Regions from separate parts of the Homo sapiens genome. Here regions 1 and 2 are each linked to region 3. Evidence: promoter capture Hi-C in 16 types of primary human blood cells and fetal thymus (Javierre and others, 2016). All regions are on one chromosome and are shown on one strand. Each heading gives the region's core, a stretch centred on a gene start or on the middle of the fragment in contact. The rest is flanking DNA. Distances are from core to core; before and after follow the strand shown.

Region 1 (3,591 bases), core at 490-2,989, 140 kb after region 3:
TTGGGGACTTCCTTAGTCTTAGCCTTCTCAGTGTTTCGAGGTCGACCCCGTTTGCCAGTAATTGCCTGAATCCTCGACGGGATCTCCTCTGCTGAGAGCTGCACCCACTGCAAGCCCTAAGGTAGCAAGGGAGACTGTTACAGTAGTAAGGAATCAGTGCAGGCCACGAGGCCCTCGGAACCATTCAATGCCCCAGAACCTTCAAACCCCACGAGAGGAAGCTGCAGCTTGTCCACCAACTCTTCCTCAGGGACAAAAGCATATTTAACCCTTGGGTCTGCACCTCTGGCGTGTCTCTTTCTTCAAAGAAATCTCCAACAGGCATACGGGGACTGAAGCTGAAGTGCTCTCGGCGGACACTGTGTACCACGTTGCGGCTCAGGTACTAAGAGGAAGAAGTAAAGTAACATTAATAAAGTTGGATCCTACCATGTCTTTGGCCAGCAAAGGCATAAGCAGAACAGGCCCAGAGCAGACAATGCCAGCCTGTTGTCACTGAGCCCAAGAACGGAGTCTTGGGCAGTGGAAAGGAGTCCACTGAGCCCAAGAAAGCAGTCCTTTAAAAAAAGCTACATTACCTTGATCACTTCTGGAAATTGCTTCATCCTCTTCCCACAGGGGCCATAATACCAGGTCTCCCCCTGCCATCGGTGGCTGCCCTTCTTGATGCGCACCTCTCTCCGCCACCTGCCAGAGAAGCACATGGGCCCTGCCGCCAGGTCACACCCCTACCCACTCCCATGCCACCTAAGCGCGAAGCCCTCTGAGCAGATGGCCCTCCCCACATTTGTATCTCTAGAACTGCATGCAGATGCAAAAGCACCAAGAGAGATAAGCTTGGCTAGAAGGCTGACTTGAGCTCCAGCAAATACATCAAGGCCCTTAGGAGAAAAGCACTACACCAAACTGCACAAGCTCAGAGAGATCTCCATCCCTCCTTTACAAAATCAGTGAGATAAGCTGCCAGAAACCCCTCCCTGAGCCATTCAGGGCAGTTACTGGATTTCCAGTAAAGAGGATAAAGACCTAAGGGGAATAAAGACAGAAGACAAAGGGCAGGGAGGCAAGCAGAAAAATAAATTTGCTGCTGATTCCATGAAAAGACTCAATATGCCAGGGTTTAGTTAGGAACTCTGTGTTCTGAGCAGAACACAAAGTTAGTCAGAGTTAGTTCTAAGACTAACTCTAATCTTTCTCTCAAAATTTTAAGCAGTACTCAGACTTGGTGACCACAAGTAGCCTTGAGGGGCAGGGGTGGGGAAGATCCAGGAAGGCAGTTATTTCCACAAGGCCCTGGTGTCAGCTAGTTTGTTCATTTTGGTCATGTACTGTTCCTGCCCTTACCTCTCCTAAGAGCATTAAAACAACAAAACCACCTCAATTCATTAGTACTAAGTCACTCCTCATTCATTACTATCCCTTGTCCACAGAAATAGGACAAGCCAGCTGGTTTGGATGTGAGCCCTAGGGTTTGGAAAAGATAATAGCTGGAGCTCCTTGGGCAAAATTGAGTCACTACAAGATGAAAAAAGAATAGGTGATGGAAGACAGACCTTGAGAGAAGAAGGAAAACCTAGGAATCTCATGCCAAGAAACATTATCACTGCAGATAACTGTCCTGTAATCTACTCTTGTCTGGCCCATTCCTCCCCCACCTCAGAGGAAAAGAGGCATTCCCTTCTTTCTAGAGTTGTGCATTAAACTTGTCAAGGTCAATAAATGTAGCAAACTAGAGCATTTACCCATGTTGGAGGGGAAGACGAACTTCTTCTGGGGTAGCAATACGTCTCCTCATGACATCACCTTGGGAGGAAGGGATACCCAAGTTAAGAGTTCAAGCAAAATATTTAAACAATAGGCCAATAGGGAAAGGCTAACTACAACATGGGACAGAAAAGTTTCTTGGAACCAGACAGGGATAGAATAGAATCTGGATACTCACCACTACCAGAAGCAGTGAGTCCTTCTCCAGTGATCTCTTCCACGTCAGCAGTGGTTTCTAGAAAGCTGCTGACATCCTTATTTGCTGGGGAGGCTGTTGGAAAGGCAGCTGCTGGGGAAGTTACGGGAGAGGCTTTTGGGGATGTCACTGAAGCCGTCAACGGGACTTCTAAGGAGACTGCTGGGAGGACTGCTGAGGAAGCTGGAGAGACCACTGAGAAGACTGCTGGAGAGACAACTGTAGAAGCTGCGGGACAAACTTCTGGAGAGATTTCTGGGGAGGCTGCTGGAGAAACCACTAGGGAGACTGCTGGGGAGGTTGTTGGCGAGACTGCTGGTGAGGTTGCTGGATGTAGCTGAATAGTGGATGACTGATCAGGAGCTGGCTGGGTCAGGGATGGTGGGAAGTCTGAAGATTGAGTTTCCATTTCTTCCTGTTCAGCGTCACTACCATTATTCAGGTCAAAGCTGTTATCTAGAATCCAAAGGGACAGGATAGGCTTTAAAAAAAAAAAAGGCATCACATAAAACAAGAGAATCTACTCAGTCAACCCTGGACCAAGCTAAACAGGGTTACTTCAAGGGGTCTTCCCTAGGGTTGGAAAAAGAAGTAGCTTTTTCTCCCAACCAATCATGAGGATTAAAGGGTAAAGTTGCTACAGATGTCATTGTGTGAAGAAATACCTTTTACCTGGTGCCAATAAAGCTTCTAGCCTCCTTCTCCCTACAAATTCCAAGTCTCACAAGTTCTTCAAAGCAGAGGGCACAGGTCGGAGTATAGCAGCCTATACCTCTTTTAGTTCCACCATACACTATCCCATAGCCCCTCAGCTCCCAGCAAGGTGCTCTTGCTTTCCTACTTTTTTTTTGAGATGGAGTCTTGCTCTGTTGCCCAGGTTGGAGTGCAACGACACAATCTCGGCTCACTGCAACCTCTGCCTCCTGGGGCCAAGCGATTCTCCTGCCTCAGCCTCCCAGGTAGCTGGGATTACAGGCATGTGCCAACACACCTGGCTAATTTTTGTATTTTTAGTAGAGGCGGGGTTTCACCATGTTGGCCAGGTGGTCTCAAACTCCTGATCTCAGGTGATCCACCCGCCTCGGCCTCCCGAAGTGCTGAGATTACAGGCGTGAGCCACTGCGCCCAGCCAGATTTCCCACTCTTAAGGCCCTAACTATGAAACTTATTCTCTCATCTTTTCTCAGGTAAAGGTCTTTCTTTGTCCTACCTACCGTCACTTACCTTGCAGGACAGACTCCCCTAGGACAGGTGGAGAGGTGGGACTGGCAAAGATAGAGGTTGATGTTTGACTATCATCTGCCAGGAGACTGAAGGCAGTAGCATTATTGAGGGAAGGGCAATCAAGGGCAGAAATCACAGGGCTGTCCTCAAGAGGCAGCTTGTCCTCTGCACCCATCAGCTCCGTGTCATCAATACCATATAGTCCTCCACTCACTGGCTCTGTTTACAAGGGTAGAAAAATCAGAGCAGGATAATGAGAAAAAAATCAGAAAGCAAGATTTAAGAAACACTGGTCAGAAAACATCCAATTCTAGTTCCCACAATGTGAAGATTCTTCCTAATATTAAGTTAGGTAACAAGTAAAGCCTTCTCCCTGAAAGAGTAGTCATGAGATTATAGGGATCATA
Region 2 (3,158 bases), core at 58-2,557, 160 kb before region 3:
CAGGCATGGTGGTGCTTGCCTGTAATCCTAGAAACTCAGGAGGCCAAGGCAGGAGGATTGCTTGAAGCCAGGAGTTAGAGGCTGCAATGAGTTATGATCATGCCATTTCACTCCAGCCTGGGCAACAGAGCAAGACCCCTGTCTCGCTAAGATAGTAATAATAATAATGATAATAATAAAAAAAATAAGAGGTTTACAAAGTGTATCTTCCTGCTGGGCACGGTGGCTCACGCCTGTAATCCCAACACTTTGGGAGGCTGAGGCAGGCGGGTTACTTGAAGCCAGGAGTTTGAGACCAGCCTGGCCAACATGGTGAAACACTGTCTCTACAAAAAACTCAAAAATTAGCTGGGCATGATGGCACATGCTTGTAATCCCAGCTACTTGGGAGGCTGAGTCAGGAAAATCACTTGAACCAGGAGGTGGAGGTTGCAGTAAGCCGAGATTGCACCACTGCACTTCAGCCTGGGCGACAGAGCGAGACTCTCCCTCAGGAAAAAAAAAACAAAAAACAAAAAAACCCCACAAAGTGTATCCTTAATCAAGCCTAGAAGGTAACATCCACCCTTTCCTATATAGGACATATCCTTTGTGTACCAATGACAAAGTCTCTCCAGCTGGAGAGTTCTTAACAGCTGTACTTTGACAAACCAGAAAGGTGCATCACAAGTAACTTGTTACTGATTAACATTAAATTTATTTATTTAAAACTATGAATAATTTGTTTTCTAAATTAAAACAGTTTTAAGTTTCCAGAAGAGAACTCTCTTTATTGTATTTGAGACAGGGTCTCACTCTGTTGCCTAGGCTAGAGTGCAGTAGTGCAATCACAGCTCAGTGCAGCCTCAGCCTCCTGGGTTCGAGAGATCTTGCCACCTTGGCCTCCAGAGTCGCTGGAACCACAGGTGCACACCATTATGCCGGCTAATTTTTGTATTTTTTGTAGCAATGGGGTCTCACTATATTGCCTAGGCTGGTCTCAAACTCCTGGACTCGAGTGATCATGATCCTTCCACCTTGGCCTCCCAAAGTGTTGGGATTATGGGCACGAGCCACCGCATTTGGCTTGAAGAGTACTCTCATTTATACTTCTGATAAGCTTTCTGATGGAAAAGAAAGGCATTTTTAGGCACGAAGCACGAAATGGACAGCACCTTGGGTATACTTTCAGGGACATGAAAAAATGTAATTATTACTTATATGCATCATAGAAGAAAAAATAAGCTTTATAATAGTTGGTTTGGAAAACTAGAGCGAACACAGCATTTCTTATGGATGATGGGAGAAGATGGAATTAACACCAGGCTGATATTAGTTGACAACAAATATCAGAGTGCTTGCTCTGTGCTCTAGTTAATTTGTCAGATTTCACAGGGATTTTTGGTACAAGAAAGCTTTGTGGAATATATGCATTCTATGCGCCAGGCTTAGTGCAAGGTATTATTAGAGAAAAAAGACTTAAAATAGAAGGTACTCTATAGCTATATTAGATCAGGTCAGCACTTGGGAAAGTTAGCTTATAGACCCAGTTTTGCCATTAAATACAGAACTTCATAAAGTTCTATGGCTTCTCTGGGCCTCAGCTTCTTCATCAATAAAATGGGCAGAGGTGAACCAGACGACCTCTAAGGTTCCTTTAGATTCTAAAATGATGTAATTTTTAAAACCTTTGAAATGTTTATTCAGGTCTTCTCTCCTTGAGGTGTTCTTGGGACCGGAGATATTCCATTTGAAACCCTGAGACAACCATACCTCAAGCTCAGAGTGCTTAAGAATTTTCTGCCAGGTGCGGTGGCTCACACCAGTAATCCCAGCATTTGGGGAGGCCAAGGCGGGCGGATCATGAGGTCAGGAGATCGAGACCATCCTGGCTAACACGGTGAAACCCTGCCTCTACTAAAAATACAAAAAAATTAGCCAGTGCAGGCCGGGCGCGGTGGCTCACGCCTGTAATCCCAGCAGTTTGGGAGGCCAAGGCGGGCGGATCACGAAGTCAGGAGATCGAGACCATCCTGGCTAACATGGTGAAACCCCGTCTCTACTAAAAATACAAAAAATTAGCCGGGCGTGGTGGCGGGTGCCTATAGTCCCAGCTACTTGGGAGGCTGAGGCAGGAGAATGGTGTGAACCCGGGAGGCGAAGCTTGCAGTAAGCCGAGATCGCGCCACTGTACTCCAGCCTGGGCGATAGAGCGAGACTCTGTCTCACAAAAAAAAAAAAAAAAAAATTAGCCGGTGTGGTGGCGGGCGCCTGTAGTCCCAGCTACTCGGGAGGCTGAGTCAGGATAATGGCGTGAACCTGGGAGGCAGAGCTTGTAGTGAGCCGAGATCGCGCCACTGTACTCCAGCCTAGGCGACAGAGCGGGACTCCATCTCAGAAAAAAAAAGAAAAAAAGAATTTCCCAAAAGAAGGTATCCTTTAGGTTTTCATCCCTATGCCCCAGTCTGGAATCTCTACACACAGAATTGTGGACAGACTTATAGTCCAGATTGACAATGGCTAGTGATAGATACACTTTATTGTTGCCACTGGCATCAAATTTAAAAGCTTAGGCTGGCAAGCAAGGCCTCTCATTAAACAACCTTCCTTACCTCGTCTGTCCCTATCCGATAAAGCCCTTACTTTTCAGCTGAGTTGGTCACATCCATTTTCCCCTTCCTGTCTCTGTTCTTGCTGGTCCCTCCATCTGGATGGGCAGGGAAGGAAGAATAATGCATATCCGTTATTTCCTTCAAGACCAAGCCCTGTCTTACTTTATGTTTCAACAGCCATGAACACAAGGGATTTCTAGAATTCTACACTACCATACACTATGTTCCCCTGCTTCCTCATGGAGGTTCCTCTATTCTCCACAATTAGACTCTAAAGACGTGGTATTGAGTGGGCACTGACTGAAAGCTTATCTAGTTTATGAGTGGAGTGGAATCTCAGAAGGTAGAAGAATTAAAGGTTCAGGCCTCTCCTACCTTTATCCTGTATCAATCCCAAAACTCTTCTTTCTCCTCCATTATCTTTCCTGTCTATATAACTCCTTATCTTCAAGCTTAATGTAAGGGCAATTCCAGGCATGAAAAGACAACACAGTTTGTACTTTTGGTTTCATATTTTTTCAGTTAATTTCAGTAAAAACATAATATATAAAAGGCATTGCCACCATT
Region 3 (3,136 bases), core at 349-2,848:
GGAGGCGGAGGTTACAGTGAGCCAAGGTTGCGCCACTGCACTCCAGCCTGGGCAACAGAGTGAGACTCAGTCTCAAAAAAAAATTAGCCAGGTGTGGTTGGTGGGCATCTGTAATTCCAGCTACTCAGGAGGCTGAGACAGGAAAATTGCTTGAACTCCAGAGGCAGAGGCTGCAGTTAGCCAAGATCAAACCACTGCACTCCAGCCTGGGTGATAGAGTGACACTCCGTCTCAGAATATACATTTTAAAAATATATATCTAAAATCCTTTTTTGAGGGGTAGGAGGATGGAGGTGGGATGTATGTTGCTATTGCACTGGCCAGCAGAACCTTGAGAAGTGGACTGATTAAAAAAATGTAGGCCTGGCATAGTGGCTAACACCTGTAATCACAGCACTTTGGGAGGCAAAGGTGGGAGGATGGCTTGAGCCCGAGAATTCGAGAACAACTTGGTCAACAAAGCGAAACCCCCGTTTCTACAAAAAAGTTAACGGGGCATGGTGCGTGCACATGTGGTCCCAGCTACATGGGAGGCTGAAGCAGGAAGATCGCTTGTGCCTCGGAGATGAAGGTTGCAGTGAGCTGTGTTTGCGCCACTGTGCTGCATGCAGCCTGGGTGACAGAATGAGACCCTGTCTCAAAAAATAAAATAAAATGGAATGCAGATCGAAATGTTCAATATAGGCTGTCCATAATCTCCTACCTCATACCCTGAACCAAAATATTGCTACTCTTGGTTAAGTTCAGAAAACTGAATGCTGAGTTAAACCATCCGTTCCTAGCCTTGAACATACAAAACCAACATTAACAGTATTTATGTATTTACTATTAATTATAAACAACTGTGAATTACCCAATGGTTGCTATTTGCCAATATATATCTAGATTAATTATTATTATTTTTTGAGATGGAGTCTTGCTCTGTCACCAGGCTGGAGTGCAGTGGCAGAATCTCGGCTCACTGCAACCTCCCACTCCCTGGTTCAAGCGATTCTCCTGCCTCAGCCTCCCGGGTAGCTGGGATTACAGGCGCGCGCCACCACGCCCGGCTAATTTTTGTACTTTTGGTAGAGGCGGGGTTTCACCATATTGGCCAGGATGGTCTTGATCTCCTGACCTCGTGATCCGCCTGCCTCGGCCTCCCAAAGTGCTGAGATTGCAGGCGTGAGCCACCGCGCCCGGCCTAGATTATTCTCACTTAATTATTACTAAGGTCTGTATATAATTTCTATTTTATAAATTAGAACACTAAGGCTCAGAAAAGTGGAGTGAGTTGCCCAAACTCACACAGTGAAGCCGGGATCAAAGCTAATTACAGTACTGTCTAATTTTAAAATCTATACTTCTAAGCATCTGGCTACACTATATCTCTAAAAGTTTTACGTAGTTCAAATGTGAGCAGCGTTCGTCTACGCAGAAAAACTGAATAAGCAGCATTAACCGCGGGCAGAAACAGAACAGAAACCACTACCTTGGCGGCCGCCCGCCCCCGGGCGTCGCCTACGTCATAACACTGCGCGGCCGCCCCTCGCGCACCACGTGCTAGGGGAGCGGGCGGGCAGATGGCTGTGTCTGTAAGCGGGAGGCGTGCCCGGTTCATCCAAGGCGCAAGATGGCGCTGCTTTTTGCACGTTCTTTGCGCTTGTGCCGCTGGGGAGCCAAACGATTGGGAGTTGCCTCCACAGAGGCCCAGAGAGGTAGGATTATCTCTTTTTACTCTTTTACCTCCAGAATGGCTGCCGTCTATTATTCCCAGACCCCACTCCGAGAAGCAACTCCAACCCTCTCGGGTCTTTTCCTTCCCCACCTGCCTTGGTCTTAAGATTCCAAACCTGTGATACCATTTGGTTTCTTTAAATTCCGGGACTTACTCAATCCGAGTTTTTCAGCTCCGTGAGCTATCCGTAGTAAAGCGACCTCGCGACTCTCTTGCCCGCTTGGCATTCTGACTCTTCCCTAGTTGCTCGTGTATCATGGCTGCCTGCCTCATATCTGAATATATCACCAGCCCTAGGGTTCTAGCCCCTGTTATTATCCCGTCTTTTTGCTCTGCCCGCAGGCGTCAGTTTCAAACTGGAAGAAAAAACCGCCCACAGCAGCCTGGCACTCTTCAGAGATGATACGGGTGTCAAATATGGCTTGGTGGGATTGGAGCCCACCAAGGTGGCCTTGAATGTGGAGCGCTTCCGGGAGTGGGCAGTGGTGCTGGCAGACACAGCGGTCACCAGTGGCAGACACTACTGGGAAGTGACAGTGAAGCGCTCCCAGCAGTTCCGGATAGGAGTGGCAGATGTGGACATGTCCCGGGATAGCTGCATTGGTGTTGATGATCGTTCCTGGGTGTTCACCTATGCCCAGCGCAAGTGGTACACCATGTTGGCCAACGAGAAAGCCCCAGTTGAGGGTATTGGGCAGCCAGAGAAGGTGGGGCTGTTGCTGGAGTATGAGGCCCAGAAGCTGAGCCTGGTGGATGTGAGCCAGGTCTCTGTGGTTCACACGCTACAGACAGATTTCCGGGGTCCAGTGGTGCCTGCCTTTGCTCTCTGGGATGGGGAGCTGCTGACCCATTCAGGGCTTGAGGTGCCCGAGGGCCTCTAGTATGTCCATTACTGGAGTCCCTAATCACGCCTTTGGCCAGCCTCCTTTTGAAAGTGTCCGAAGCCTTTTTACTTTGCCTCAAGCAACCTCTAGCTCCCACAATTCAGTGTTGGGTCCTCTGTGCAATATCATGATCATCTTCCTCATCCCCTACCTTGTGAAAGCTAGGCATACAGCCAAACCCTCCTTTTCCCCACCCACCAACTACTGCCAATTTCCTAGGCTACCATGGGTGTATCTTCCTTGACCTGCTTCCTTCAGTCCCTCTGCCTCCCTTTGCCCAGGCCTTTCTCAGACTGTATTCCATCCTGGGGTCTTATCATTCAGCTTTGTTTGAATTTATTAATCACCATGATACCTCTCCCTCCCTTTGTCCACATGTAACTTGTTCTTGGGGCTCTACCAGATGGCTGAAGAGTAAATCCTTTCTACCTCTGGCTGAAGGAGTGGTGCAGTCAATGACTTGGCCCTTTTTCTACAGCACATTTAGAGTTTGGGCTCTGGCTCCCTCAGTAAGTGCTTTATTAACTCAGTGTGT

The links. Contacts are between HindIII fragments. The CHiCAGO score rates a contact against its expected background, and 5 or more counts as called.
Region 1: a fragment that was not itself captured here is called in contact with the fragment with the promoter of SPRYD4 in region 3 in 1 of 17 cell types (M1 macrophages); the score reaches 5.1 in M1 macrophages.
Region 2: a fragment that was not itself captured here is called in contact with the fragment with the promoter of SPRYD4 in region 3 in 3 of 17 cell types (total B cells, non-activated CD4 T cells and M1 macrophages); the score reaches 6.7 in total B cells.

Annotation. Positions count from the first base shown.
Region 1 is chr12:56,609,831-56,613,421 of GRCh38, forward strand. BAZ2A (bromodomain adjacent to zinc finger domain 2A) reads right to left here. Exons shown (of 29, transcript NM_001300905.2): 5 at 3,185-3,403; 6 at 1,943-2,416; 7 at 1,743-1,803; 8 at 579-687; 9 at 284-385; 10 at 1-116. Among named protein-coding and RNA genes, the nearest start is that of BAZ2A, 19 kb to the right of the region's middle. The HindIII fragment of the contact is 1,811 bases long and covers 835-2,645 here.
Region 2 is chr12:56,307,344-56,310,501 of GRCh38, forward strand. It overlaps CNPY2 (canopy FGF signaling regulator 2), which reads right to left. Exons shown (of 6, transcript NM_014255.7): 6 at 2,501-3,158. Among named protein-coding and RNA genes, the nearest start is that of CNPY2-AS1, 2.5 kb to the right of the region's middle. The HindIII fragment of the contact is 170 bases long and covers 1,223-1,392 here.
Region 3 is chr12:56,466,980-56,470,115 of GRCh38, forward strand. SPRYD4 (SPRY domain containing 4) reads left to right here and starts at 1,599. Exons shown (of 2, transcript NM_207344.4): 1 at 1,599-1,697; 2 at 2,060-3,136. The coding sequence starts at 1,613. The coding sequence ends at 2,598. RefSeq lists enhancers at 1,267-1,336, 1,347-1,526, 1,847-1,896, 2,317-2,446. The HindIII fragment of the contact is 12,495 bases long and covers 1-3,136 here.